2 separate regions of the Homo sapiens genome follow, and region 1 is linked to region 2. Evidence: promoter capture Hi-C in human tissues and cell types (Jung and others, 2019). All regions are on one chromosome and are shown on one strand. The core of a region is centred on a gene start or on the middle of the fragment in contact, and the rest is flanking DNA. Distances in the headings are between cores, read along the strand shown.

Region 1 (6,967 bases), core at 1,455-3,954, 170 kb before region 2:
CTTTCCTTCTTTCTTTTTTTCTTTCTTTCCTTCTCTCTCTTTCTTTTTTTTGACTGCTTTAATTTCTTGATTTTGAGACTGATTCACAGTCCCACATTCTTGTTGGTGACCTAAAGCTTCTTCTAATGATTTGACAAGATTTCCTTGGAGTGGGCAAAGATTTCTTAAGCAGAACATAAAAGCAGTAATCAATCATATGATGGCTCATACCTGGAAATCAGAGTACAGGTAAAAATGGTTCAGATTCGAAATTCTTATGTCTTGAAGCCTGACATGGTGGTTGACAGGTCCTTCTGTTTGTGCTTCATACTTTTGCTAAATTATTTTTGAAAGTTTTCTAAAGATAATCTCTGGGATAAACTTTGCCAAATAATTTGTAACCAGGAACACGAGGAACAACTGGTGAGCCTCTTTTGTCCTTTTTAGAAAAGATTTGAGACAAGCAGGGGCAGGTGGTGGTGGGCTCATCTCCAAACAGCTGTGAGAGTTAGCATTAAGGTAGTAAGCCCACCAACCTCACCCTACTTCATCCTCCCCAGTCCTCTCCGCCCAGGTGGCAGGGAGCACGCCCTCTGCTGACCAGCGCACCAGTGGCTCCAAGTACCCAGTCTTTGGCATCAGTGGCCACCAGGCTGCAGCTCTGTGAACAGCAGCTGCAGAGGAGCTTCCTGCCAGCCCAGGGAAGCCATAGCCTGTGCATGATCAGCCCCTTTTAGGAAACTAAGGTTGATTTGATGGAGCCAGTGCTGGCAAATCTGTCCAAGGAAAACCGTCCTGGTACCTGGATTTATCCAGGATCCAGCCTTGGAGGTGGTAAGGGAGGTCACTTTCGTGGCAGGCCAAGAGCCTTGAGAGGTTTTGAAAAATTCAAGAAGAGGCTGGTCACGGTGGCTCATGCCTATAATTCCAGTACTTTGGGTGGCTGAAACGAGTGGATCACCTGAGGTCAGGAGTTCGAGACGAGCCTGGCCAACATGGCAAAGGAAGGAAGGAAGGAAGATTCAAGAAGAAAGGAATTAGGCCAAAATGTATAGATACTACAGATGAAATCTTATGGAGAAATTTCCTTGGACTTACCATCTTAGCTTCAAGACAGCAAATGAATAGAAGCTTGTAAAAGATCAAGCTGAGATTTCTTAGAGAACCTCTAGCGGAAAAAACTTAAAGAAGGCCCATATGGTTAACAGTCTTGCTGCACCTGTTTAAAGAACCAGGCCGAATCTAATAAGACCATACTCATTTTGTCATCAAGAATCTTTGAGGTTCTTTGTAATAAAAAGTGGGGGGACTATAAGGAAAAAATTGTGCTTAATTTGAAAATTACGTGTTGTCATTCCAGAGCACACCTGACTTGTCTGATTCCAATTCTGTGGGAGCTGTTTTGCAGCTCTATAAAGTGTAGATAACTGGCAGCAATGCTAAATCATTCTTGTCTATAGATATGCAAATGAATGCTGTCCGGTAAAACAACAACAACAACAAAAAAAACCCCATCTGGCTGTATTTGCACAGTCATTTTAATATTCCGGATCTATAAATGTGTCTGTCCTTGGGATTCTCCTTTCACCTGGTTGTAATACTTCACTGCTTTCCTCATGAATTAGTTAAATAAAAACTTTAACTCATGTTTATTCTTATATCTGTATAAGAGTACTGATCTTACCTGTTTATGAAAATTATCTTTTAATGGCTACTTAGAACTAAATTATCCTTTAATGGCTTGTCCCCGTCTTTGTTTTAGCCACAGAGGGCCTAGAGACTTTAAGGCAAAGTATCAGAGACTTTTGAGGCAGCCCAGTCTGGCGACTTTCCCAGCAACCTAGCGCAGAAACTTTCTAGAAGCTTTATGATGACATCCCTGTTCAGAAGCACTTGGTGTTTTTTCTGTTCTATTGACTGAGGTGTCCTGACACTATTTTGGCAGACATTGTAATGTGCTGAGAAGTTGTACCAGGTATCTCATCATCAAAATGGAAATTTCAAAAGGCTGTCCTGAGTAGCCCCTGAGATTGTGCACCCCACTTTAGCGATGGCTAATATATCCTATTGTCAATGCATAGATGACGGTAATGATAATGGCTTGCTGGAAAAATGCTGAGGATACTTGTCCAGTTCAGAAAAAAGGCCTTCATCTTTCACCACAGTATATGCCCTCCTGGGTATTTATGGCTTGCTTGAGTGTGTGTAGGACCACCGTCATTATCAAAACATGTATTCCTAACAGCAGAGAGTGAGACCTTTTCTTAGGACGGTTAATAAACAAACCCAGAAGTTAATGTTACCTTGGGAACATGTCAAGTTTCTGAGTCATAAAGCCCCAAGTTAGTAGCTGGAAAGTCCATCATCAAGGTTAAGGGCATCCCCCAGAATGCTAGAATGATTTTGACAATTTGAAAAACTTTGTTTAATTATTGCTCAGGGAAGAAACATCCACAAACATCTTTGTTTAGCAGAGGACTTCTGTGACAGATGAGCCAAAGTAAGTAAAAAGAACAAAACAAGCCAGGCGAGTTGGCTCATGCCTGTAATCCCAGCACTTTGGGAGGCTGAGACAGGCGGATCACCTGAGGTCAGGAGTTCGAGAACATCCTGGCCAACATGGCAAAACCCCATCTCTACTAAAAATACAAAAAAGTTAGCCAGGCATGGTGGCACTGGCCTGTAATCCCAGCTACTCAGGAGGCTGAGGCACCAGAATCGCTTGAACCCGGGAGGCGGAGGTTTCAGTGAGCCGAGATCGGCCACTGCACTCCAGCCTAGGCGACAGAGTGAGAATCCGTCTCTGAAAAAAAAAAAAAAAAAAGAACAAAACAAATTAAAAAGTTTTACACAAGTGTGTCATTGTTAACAGTTTGATATACAGCCTATCATGACTCAGTCCTTTGTTTCTGGATCATCTAATTTAGGACAAAGCTATTTTGAGCTGGGGAAAAGAAATTTCTGGAAAATTGAGAAAATAGTGTTAGTAGAGGAAGGCTCCTTTGCAGTACCTATTGCTTTCATGAGAAGGATTTTTCCCTAAACCCTCTGACCCTAGGTCTTATGCCTCTCAAGTGAATTGCCTGACTTGAAAGGGGAACTGGGTGTGTGTGGCCCAGCCCTGTCCTCCTGCCCTCTTTCTCTCCCTCTGGGAATCTTCCTATCTACAGAGCGGTAGTGCTGATGGCTGCTTGACTCTGGTTTTTCAGGTCAGACTATAACTTGGCAAATCTCTCTGATACCAGAGGAGTTCAGGATTGGGAAGTCTACTGTTGCCACATACTTCTATTCCAACTTTATTAGGGAACAGAGATGCTATTTATCGGGCTACCACCCCAATATTTATTATCAATGTTTCTTTAGAAAATTGCCTGGGGGCTTTAGGTTCTGGCAGTCATCATACAGGGAGTTACAGTGTCATTTAAGGGTATCAAATTAGAAAACAGCTGTGGAAAATTATGTGAAAACCCAATTTCCACGGACACTGTGGACATGGTGATTGTGGATGTGTAATGAACAGGGCCCATGATAAGAATGTAATTGAACAATGCTTTTCCACATTCAGCACATCCAGAATCTCAGAATCCTTTACATAATTCAGAATGTATCTTGCCAGAACAAGAGAGACCACATCATAAATGTGAATTCTAAATACACAGCTCTTTTTAAAATCTACCATGACTAATTATAACTGTTGGCTCAACAGATGTACCCCCACTCCATCACCCTTCTTTTTGGAAACACAATACCACTAAGAGCCCCTGCAAGATATCCTCCTGATGGGTCTAAAAAGCCCTCTGCTGACAAGTACCGCCTGAGAATGAGTCTTACACACCTGCTCGGCAGGCTGTGCACATCTCAAATATTCAGGGAAGCAAGGAGGAAGGGGTATGGCCCTCCAGGGTGCTGCTGTCAAGCACCGTAGCAGAGTAACCTACTGGAATTACTTGTAAAACCATCCCCACAAAAGCAAAAATCCATATGCTGCCTCTTGTCGTTCCAGAGGCAATAGTTAAGTTGTACACACGGAAAAGACCCAAATTCGGGGTTGTCGCTTCCTGATCATTTTTGTCCTTTTTTGTAACTGTGCCACCCAAATGAGCAATGAGCAATATACCAAAAACCCGAGGCTGTCCACATGGCAAGATCTGATCCGAGTTCCATTCCAATGTTGTTCAAAGGTGATTGTTTTCCAGGGTTGTAGTCTCTTACAGCCATAGGGGGATGGAGGGCAACAATCACTGAACTCAAAGGCAGCCCTGGTTCCTTTGATCACTGCGAAGCCATCTAGGAAGTAGCTCCTGACAGACCCTTCCCTCCCTGGAAGGCGCGGCCTGCTAGATAACCCCTCAACTGCAGGCCAAATAGCACAGTATTTGGATGGAGAGGAGGCTCCATTAGAGGGGTGATAGAGGCAGCTCTCTTTCTGGTAAAAATTAAAGCTTATATAGGGCCATAAGGATGAATGGAAGCATAACATACTGAAAGTGGTCAGTGTCTTGTGTTTTATTTTCCTTATCTGCTCAGGGCTGTTGTTTTGAGAGCTGGCCCAGGACCCACATAATGCTGGCTCAGAGCCATATTAAAAGATATGAGGAGTCTCCCCTTATTTTCCAGAAAAGCCTTAGCTTCTGTAAACTTCAGGGAAGATTAAAGAGTCCATGAGGTAGCTGTCTAAGGTTTTGCCCATATGCCCAAGAGCTTCCCACTGTAGATCGTGTTAGCCACCTCAATCCCCAACCCCCAACCTCAGATAATCGAAGTCCACAGGACATGTTGATGCCCATTACCTGACCAGAAAAATGCTTTCTTTGTCCTGTGTTTAACTCTATTTTTTTTTCTTTTTCTTTTTTGAGATGGAGTCTTGCTCTGTCACCCAGGCTGGAGTGCAGTGGCACAATCTCGGCTCACTGTAACATCTGCCTCCCAGGTTCAAGTGGCTCTTCTGCCTCAGCCTCCCAAGTAGCTGGGATTACAGGTGCCCACCAACTTGCCCAGCTAATTTTTGTATTTTTAGTAGAGATGTGGTTTCACCATGTAGGCCAGACTGGTCTCGAACCCCTGACCTCAGGTGATCCGCCCACCTCAGCCTCCCAAAATACTGGGTTTACAGGCGTGAGCCACCATGTCCGGCCTACCTCTATTCTTTCTAATAGTTCTTGTTAACTTTGATAACATGTCTGCAATAAGCTTTGAATTACTGTAATGTTTGAAATGTACACTGGGAGAGTTCCTATATACAACTCAGCTGCCATCCATACCATGAGAATAGTGATTTGTTTGGCTTTTCTTTAACCCATTAGAGTTGAACAAAATATTCAAGACTCACTTCTGTTTTTTTCAGGAGTCTCTGAATATCCCCTCTTGACCACCTTCTGGGGTATTAAATTAAACAGAAACAAAATTTATGGAAACATTCAACAGCCCTAATGATCTATAAGCCTTTGCCAGTGCTTAATCTGTTCCAGAGGTATATCTACCTCCTCAAATCACTCTTAAGGGGCCCCAGGTACCACCCAGCTTCTCCTAAGCATTTTAGTACTTTTCCCTGTCGCAGAAGCCTTCTCTGCCCCCTCCGCTTTGTCCTGCCTACACTGAACAAATCACCAAACCAGGCACTATGGACAGTGACTTGGCTGTACAGGTGCCCTTTGCATAACAATGATGTTCGTGAGAGGCATGACTCTTAAGCCGACATGAGTCTCTGTGACTTTAAATCCTCCTTGTTCCTTTCAGACAAACTGCTGACAAGCCTGGTCAGCATGCACTGACCTGAATGCCCTTTTCTACATCATTAAACCCCTTTTTAACTTCCCGCTGTGGGGATGATGTGTGTCTGCACCGGATCCACACTATGTTTCTTCCCCCTTTCTGTTTAATCACACCTAAATCAAAAGCAGAAAATCACAGTTAAAGCTAATTTGTATCATATTAAATATTAAAATCCATATTAAAATTAATGACATGGTGATATGGTGAGACCCCTTAATAACACTACCATGTGACAGTTTTCTATTTTCACTTACTATTGCTATTAACTTCGTGTTGGCATCAGTTGTTCTCTACAGGTGACAAGTGCATTTGATAGCAGCATATATATGTAAATAACTTACGAATGACAAAATTTTTATAATTTTTTTAAAAATACAAAATTAAACCCTCTAAAAAACTAATTTTTAAGATATCTCTGAAAAATACACAGATATATACGTACTCCTACCCTTTTGTGTCTTACCCTAAAAATTACTCTTTGCAAATAATCTTATAAGCTTTCACTCCCTTTTATTTTGCTTTGCTGGTGGCTCTGATGGTATATGTTCACTGGTGCCTTTTTGGGGGAACATTCCAGAACCCTGTTCTATTATACCACAGACACAGAAAGGTGTTCTGATAATGAGTACTAGTATTTTGGAAAATAAAACAAAAAACAAAATTTCACCACATCCTTGTGAGAATATTTCTACACATTCCTGGAGTTTGTCTGATGTGCTATCATTGGCAAGGTAGAAGGTCATCCTAAATTAACTTGGATCTTTTTCCATTATGGATCATATGCAGAAGCATGAATTGTAGAGTCTTCACAACAGAAATAGCTTGTTCTGTATTACAGGACTCCAGAGTGAGTGAGGGATTCATCCTGACTAACAATAAATATTGTTACATTAATGCTTCAGCACAGTCTCTTATATTGAGTACTGTAGAGAAAGAGGCATAGAATAAGTTTATTACTAACTAAGAAAAAAATAATAAACTCAACTTTCTCTTTACCAAACAATTTATCCGGAATTACAACCTGTATCATTGCAATGTTTTTATGAATTCTAGGCAATATCTTCTAACTTAAAAAATAAGTAAAACTAAAAAAAAAAAAAAAGAAAAAGAAGTGGTAAAACTTAAAGCTCCCCCATCTCACCCTTCATCACATACTAGCAGAATATCTTTCACCAATTCTTAACTATAGATACCCATGTAAGAAATAGTCTGTTTA
Region 2 (7,113 bases), core at 775-3,274:
AGGTTATACATGATGCTTTTACATCCTAAAAGCATAAAAATAAATATGCTAAAAATAAATAAATCTAAATAAATAAATAAATAAAAGGCACCACCACTCACCCACCCACACAAGCGAGAACCCTGGTAGTCTTCTCAATTACACCTTTTCTTTCACCTTTCAGATACAAGCTATGACTACATCCTCAATTCTGCCTCTGAAATTTGGCTAGGTTTAAAAAGTTAGGAGATCTAGGATCTAGTCCTAATGCTGTAACTAACTCCACTAACACAAGGTGAAACTCTAGGTAAGTTCCAACCCCATTCCCTTATTTGTAAATTGGGAGAAGAGGGATGTTTTCTCAAAATCTGAGATTCCCAAGGTTCCCTCTCAAGCCAAGGGCTTCCACAGATTGTACCATGAGCCCATGATTAAATCCCATCTTGTACTACCTCGATGATTTGACTTCTAGTTTCCACTGTTAGGCTAAATGTGTTAGAGGATGGTCTTAGTTGCCTCCCCTCCACACTCCCCCTGCCCCCTCGCCCCCGTAAATAAATGTTTGCTGAGTTTTAAGTCACCTGTGACACTCTATGAACGCTCTCTATTCTAACCATATGGTTTTTCTGCTTTTCTGAACCTGGGCTATACTATCCCAACGATGGACTCTTTGCTCAAGTTCTCTCGGCAAGAATGCCATTGTCTCCTAAGTGGCTGTGGCAGTACCTGGCACACAGGAAGTACTCAGTATATGTTGGTTACAGGAGAGCTCTGTTTAAATCTCTGCAGTTCCCTTTCATCAGAGAGAGATGCAAAAGTAATGGCAGTAACAAGACAAGTGAATAAAGTCCCAAGAAGAGAGACCTCTGCTTAATATAAGGAAGCTTTTCCACAGCAGAAAGTAGCAAGTGCTCTGTCACTGGAGGCATACAAGCCCAAGGAGGCAGGGCTACTGTCAGGCCTGCAGCTCTGATTCCAATTCTGCAGCAAATCATCCCCTGCTTAGGGGATGAATGGGCACCAGTGAGCTAGACAGACTGGCCAAGGGAGACCTGTGATGTTTTCTGCACCTGCTGTGACCTCCCAGATGTGATCTTCCTGCTAGGGCCAGTCCTGAGTTTCTGTTGTCCACATCAGAGAACCCCCACACCAAGAACAAGCCCAGGGCCTGCCCTCAGTCGAACTGACCTCCCTGGGGTGCAGCCTGCCCCTCCAACCTGCAACCATCTGTCCCTGCAGGTTTGCAGCCCAGGATCTGAAGCCAATTGCAGAAGGGAGGAGGTCAGAACCAGGGAGGGGCCTGGGGTCCTCCAGGCAGGGCTCAGGCTACAGGAGAACCAGAGGGGTCCTTTCCTACAAAAAAACAGCCTCCACATGAGGCTTTCTGTCCACAGAGCAGTGCATGGGGAGGAAAGGGTGTCCTCCATCCTGACTGGTGGGCCTGTGGGTACCAGAGGATGGAAGGGGCGGGGGGTGGGGTAGGGTGGGGGTGGGGGAGCAAGGGGTGGAGGTGTCTGCACCAGGGAGAAAAGAGCCCTTCAGACAAGATGGGCCACAATATTCCAGAGTCCCACTCAGCACGCACCACCACCACCACCCTCGGCCGCAGCGTTCAGCACCCTCCGCCAACACACACAAGCTCCCAAACCCCGCGCTCCCCTAAGGAACCATCACCCATCCACCCGCGCCTCCCCGCCTCAAAACAGGGACCTCACGTGAGCAGCCACAGCCCGAAGAATCCCCCTGCTGCTCTCACGGACATGGACACGCCTCACGTGGGCAGAGAGAGGCACAGCTTTTGAAAATCATCTGTGCCCCCACCCACAGACGCTCCGACCCAGACCCGGGCTGACAGGAATACAAACGCACCCTTGGGGCCCGCCCGTCGCACTCACCGCGTTGGAACAGGATGCGAGGGCAAAGCTCGGACTGCGGCCACTCTGAAGGGCCCGCGGCGCTGCTACTGCTGCCAGCGCCCGTCCGCCCGGCCCTGCCCGCGCCTCCGCCTGTCCCCGCGCCGGCGCCGCCGCCGGACTAGCCGCACAGGCCGGAGGGAGGGGCCGGGGCGGGGCTGCGGACCGGCCGGGGGAGGGGGTGACTCCAGTAGGGAAGACCCACCCACGCCCCGCCCGCCGCCGCGGAGGCCCCGCCCACCCCGCCTGCCCACCCCTACCGCACCCGCACGCCCCCCCGCCAACGCCTCCACCTCCTGCGGACGCTGCCTCCTTGGTGCTGCTAGGGAGCCGGCGGGCCGGCGAGCCGGATCCCGGATCTCGGATCCCGGATCTCCGCCAGCTGCCTCCGGCTCCGGGAAGGGCGGTGTAGTCGGTCTCAGGGATTGAGATGAGACTCCGTCAAGAAAAGGCAGCTGGGGCAGCAGGGATTTCGGACTCTGGGAGCCTGTCTGGGCCGCCTGCCTCCTGGAGGCGCCCTTTCCGGCTTCCTTGGAGTGCTCCTATGGAATATGCTAGTCTATCGGCTGACCAGGAAGACGTAGAAACCGTCTGTACCTCAGCACGATCTCTGGGCGGCAGAAGGGCAGTACCCAGAACTCTGGGAGAAGGAGTTAAGGGGTAGAAAGGTGGGGGATTTGATTAGGCTTTGGGCGCTTCAGGAGCCCCCTCCTGAGGAAATTCTGGTTCAGACCATCCAGCGACTCCCTTCCTCACACCAAAGACACTGGACAATTCTCAGAATCATCGCCTTGTGCAAAAAGCAGCCCCAAGTGGAAAATAATTGTAACAGTTTACAGGGACTGAGTGGTTATTATGTGCCGACACAGAACTAGCCACTTTACATATATTATTTAATAGTCAGTAGGTAGCATCTTTTATTAGCCCAATTTTACAATGGGAAAAAATAGGGATCTTGCTCCCCAGACGTTAGCCCTCATCACTCAGCTAGAAAGTGGCAGAACCTGGAGTTGAGCCCTGTTTTTAGGCCCTACAACCAGCATTTGGAGACTCGGTACCTTTCATGTTGAAAAATCCCCAGTGGCCCATTAAGTGGCAGCTCATATAAGGACCACCTTCCCTGCCCCAAAAATCAAGCTCTAGTCAGATGATTGCAGGCTGATCAAAGCCCAGAAGACTGTCTGGGAGCTGCAGTATCCATGACAAAGGGCAAAGTCATGCCTGTGAGGATCCCTGCACTATGGGAATCTGCTGAGTGGGTCTTCCCCTTCCTCCAGCCTTCCAGAGGTGGGGAAAATCCTGAAAAATTCTGGTTTCCTTGGCCAAAGGGCATACAGGTGATGACACCTAGCCCTGACTAAACCAAAGTGCTGTTAGGGATCTTTCTTGTGACCTCTCCACAAGGTTCAGATTTAGGCTCAACACCTGGGTGCAGCAGGAGCTTTGGGAACCGCCTCAACCTCTTATCCACCTGAGTTCAGCACATAGCACAAGATGCTCCAGTGCTTGTGAAGGAAACCCAGACGGGGATCATGCTTGCAGTTTTGGGCTGGGGCTACTATGCTACCCAAGATGAGGGAACTGGAGTCTAGATGACACTATCTTAAGCCTCAGAGGACTACTTTTCTCAACTCTATACTTCTCCCATGCAGTCAAATTTCTGCTTAAAACACTTCTCAGCTCCTTCTCCAGAGGGCAAAAGTCCTTAACCAGCCTGCAGTCTTCATCTAGCCACTCCCTCTTCATTTTTCATTCCAAGCAATTCCTCCCAGTTCCTACTCAGAGCCTTCATTATATGCTAGCCTCTCTGCCTGGGATGCTCTTCCCTTTACCCTGCCTGTTTGTCATCTACTCACCCTTCAGGTCTCAGCTTTTTTTTTTTTTTTTTTGAGATGGAGTCCCGCTCTGTTGCCCAGGCTGGAGTGCAGTGGCGCAATCTTGGCTCCACTGCAAGCTCCGCCTCCCGGGTTCACACCATTCTCCTGCCTCAGCCTCCCGAGTAGCTGGGACTACAGGACTACAGGCGCCAGCCACCGTGCCGGGCTAATTTTCTTGCATTTTTAGTAGAGATGGGTTTTCACCGTGTTAGCCAGGATGGTCTTGATCTCCTGACCTGGTGATCCGCCCGCCTCGGCCTCCCAAAGTGCTGGGATTACAGGAGTGAGCCACCGCACCTGGCCAGGTCTCAGCTTTCAAACTGACATCCCCATTTCCACCCCAGTCCATGCCAGATGCCCCTCCTTTGTGCTCCCACAGCGCCCTCTGTACTTCTGTATCCTAATACTTATCACTGTTTTGTAGTTGCCTGGTTACTTCTTTCCCTCAGTAGGCCCTAAGCACTGTGGGCAGGGACCGTGTTTTATTCACTGATGTTTCCCCAGGGCCTAACGCAGTCCCTGGCAAATGAAAGCACTCAGTAAATATTTGCTGTATGAATGAATGCATGATGAAGGTCAGCAAACCCAACCCCCTCTGGATCTGGTGCTCTTAAGATCCATAGCTATCTTGGTGCTGGCTAAAGGACAAAGCTTTGGCTCCAACTGAGGCTGGGAGAGAAGACTGGGCCTTCAAACCATCTCTGAAACCTGTGACTTCAGCTGCCTGGCCCCAGCTCTTTTGACTTGATAGGGTTCTGGTGTTTGATTAGACTGAGCTTGTCTCCACCCAGGCCACCCTCCTAGAGTCCCCGACAAATTGACCTCGCTGGGCCTGCTTTTATGAAAGGTTTATTCCTAGTGCTAGATCCCAATCTTCTTGGGCTCTAAGCACAATTAAACTGGGTGGGTGGGTGAGGGTAGGCCTATTCAGATGCAAGGCCAGCAATGGGGCTCCCCATTATCCCCACCCCTTTGGTCCCAGTCCCCTTCTCTGCAATGGGCACGCATAGAGGAGAGACAAAGGGTATTAGACGCAACATCATTGGCCCAGGGGAGTCCGAGAAGAGCTGCCATTGGCTGACAGGGCATTTTCAGGCTCTGTCATTGGTCAGGGAGCACACCCCAGCCTGAAGAGTGATGCCATTGGCCAGGGAGTGGTTTTGTCATAGCCGTTGGCTGTGAAGTGGAAGGAAAAGATCTGGGAATGAAGCCCTGTGGCCAGGAAGATAGACAGGGCAGCAACTTCTGGGCCTCCAGGCCCTCTTCCCACCATAGCAATGTGGGCAAAACTGGTGTCAGGCCCCAGCCAGAAAAAGGAGCCCAAGCCAGAGGGCAAGTGACAAAGGATGTACCATGTCCAATCTCCCACACCCTGGGGCTGCCCTTCCCAATGTCTTTCTTGATAGCCAAGTTGGGCTGGGAGCAGCTCACTGCTCCTCTAGCCAGGAGGGTTTCTCAGCTCCTGGAGGCCGCAGCTTGATGTTGAACTGCTGCAGGGTCTGCTCCAGCTGTTTCTGGTTCCCAGCAAAGTAGGCGGACACAGCATTGTGGAAGAGCAGCAGCTGCTTGTGCATCACCTTGATCTGGGGGTCCAGCAGGGTCAGCTAAGGCTGGACTCAGGCGCCCTTCTTGAGGGTCTATGAGCCTGAGCCCAGGCACAGACCAGGGGCACAAGGACTCTGCTCTGATGGTGCTTTTGGGGTAGGGGCTGAACTCTACCCAGGGAGTCAAAGGAGAAGGGTCAGTATGATGGAAGAAACCTCACTGGATTTGTGGGCCTAGGGTTTTTGTACCCCAGCTCAGGGGGTGATTTTTCCCAGTTATGTTCCTGGGACCAGCAGCCAAATCCTCCAACAGGAAAGGGCCAGGAATTGGAGGGAGGGTGATCTGGAAAGGCCCAGGGGTTGAGGGGGTGAACACTCTACTCCCCAGCTAGGCTGCATTTCCTCATTCAATAATGGGGAGGGTCTGAGGGGAAGGTTAGTGTTACAGATGGAAAGGTGGGCTAGGGTCAAGGGGGTGGGGTTGGCACCTTGTTTTCTTCCAGGAACTTGAGCTTGATGGCCACATCTCCCCGCAGCTTCTCATACTTGTCCCGATGGGCCTGGAAAGTGGCCTGGGCACTCTCAAGTCGACCACGTGTCCCTGCATCCCGGGGGCCTAGACTCAGCTCCTCTAAGTCTGTTCGGTAGGCATCATATTCCAGCCTGGGGAGGGGGTGATAAAGGCTGGTCTCCACTCCTTTATCCTCAACACATACTCTCCTTTCCTTCCTGAATTCTTATGCCCCTAATGCCCAAATTTCCACCCATACCAGCCAACTCCCCAAACCCTAAGCCCTGCCAGTGCCCACACCTGGCAGCCTCATACTGTTTCACAGTCATGAGCGTGTCTTCCATGGTCTTGGTGACCAATGTGTTGATGCTAGAGACAAAGAAGTTCACGGCTCCTAGCAGCGTTTCCCCATTCTTGCATAGTAGTTTCTGTGTCTCTGCATTGTAGCCAAATTCCTCCTGAGGGCAGAAGGGAGGAACAGACCTTGAATAACACTCCCTACCTGACTGAAGCTGTAGAGCCCTTCATTCCCCTCCTCCCCGGGGAGGACACAGCCAGCAAAACTGGAACAACCAAGGACTGCCTCCAGCAAGGCTCTCTTAGCCGGAAAGTTAGTGGGATCACCCTGGGGATACCTGGGGTAGGAATGTGGGTGGTGGGCATTCTTGGGTAAGTTCACAAGACTGGAACAGTCTGAGAGCTAGTGTGGCAAGCAGGGGAGGGGCTCTGATTAGGCTGAGCACGAAGGCATTCTCCCCAGTGCAGAGAGGGGTTATTTGTGAGGCACCTAGTGTGCCCCCTCCCCCACCCCCTCCAACTTCTGGACCTCTGTACAAACCCTTAGGCTGCCTCCACAGGTGAGTGCTGCTGGGGGTAGGGCTGGGCCCACCCTGAAGGGGTTCTCCCTGTGGGCTGCAGGAGGGAGGGAGGATGAGGAATGACTGCCTGGGAGGGCCCATGCCCAGTTCCCCCACCCTCTTTGGTCTGGGTGAGGCACCTGAAGCTCTGGGGACTTCTGGCTGAGGTCAGCAAAGGCATCACCCAGTGCATGCTGGGTCTGCAGCAGGCTGTAGAGGTGGGCTGTCAGTGCCCGGCCCAGCTGCAGGACACTCTCATACTTGCGCTTCGTCTCACGCAGCAACTCAATCTGCAGCTCTAGCTCCAGGTCCACAGTCCGTGAGCCTCGACCAAATCGTTCTGATAACAGTTGCTTTGTGCACTGATTGGGAAATGGGGGAATAAATCAGAGACCCTAACAGCCTCCCCACACAACAGGTATCTACCCCAGC

Evidence for each region. Contacts are between HindIII fragments. The study calls those that stand out against the background at their distance.
Region 1: a fragment that was not itself captured here is called in contact with the fragment with the promoter of TRIM3 in region 2 in 1 of the 25 tissues and cell types used here (neural progenitor cells).

What each region holds. Positions count from the first base shown.
Region 1 is chr11:6,298,178-6,305,144 of GRCh38, forward strand. No RefSeq gene overlaps it. Among named protein-coding and RNA genes, the nearest start is that of CAVIN3, 19 kb to the right of the region's middle. RefSeq lists an enhancer at 5,364-6,082. The HindIII fragment of the contact is 4,182 bases long and covers 614-4,795 here.
Region 2 is chr11:6,471,917-6,479,029 of GRCh38, forward strand. TRIM3 (tripartite motif containing 3) reads right to left here and starts at 2,025. Exons shown (of 12, transcript NM_033278.4): 1 at 1,875-2,025. It overlaps ARFIP2 (ARF interacting protein 2), which reads right to left. Exons shown (of 8, transcript NM_001376558.2): 5 at 6,822-7,043; 6 at 6,125-6,282; 7 at 5,802-5,976; 8 at 4,603-5,352. The coding sequence ends at 5,197. RefSeq lists enhancers at 686-1,625, 1,626-2,564 and a silencer at 1,922-2,151. The HindIII fragment of the contact is 11,464 bases long and covers 1-6,083 here.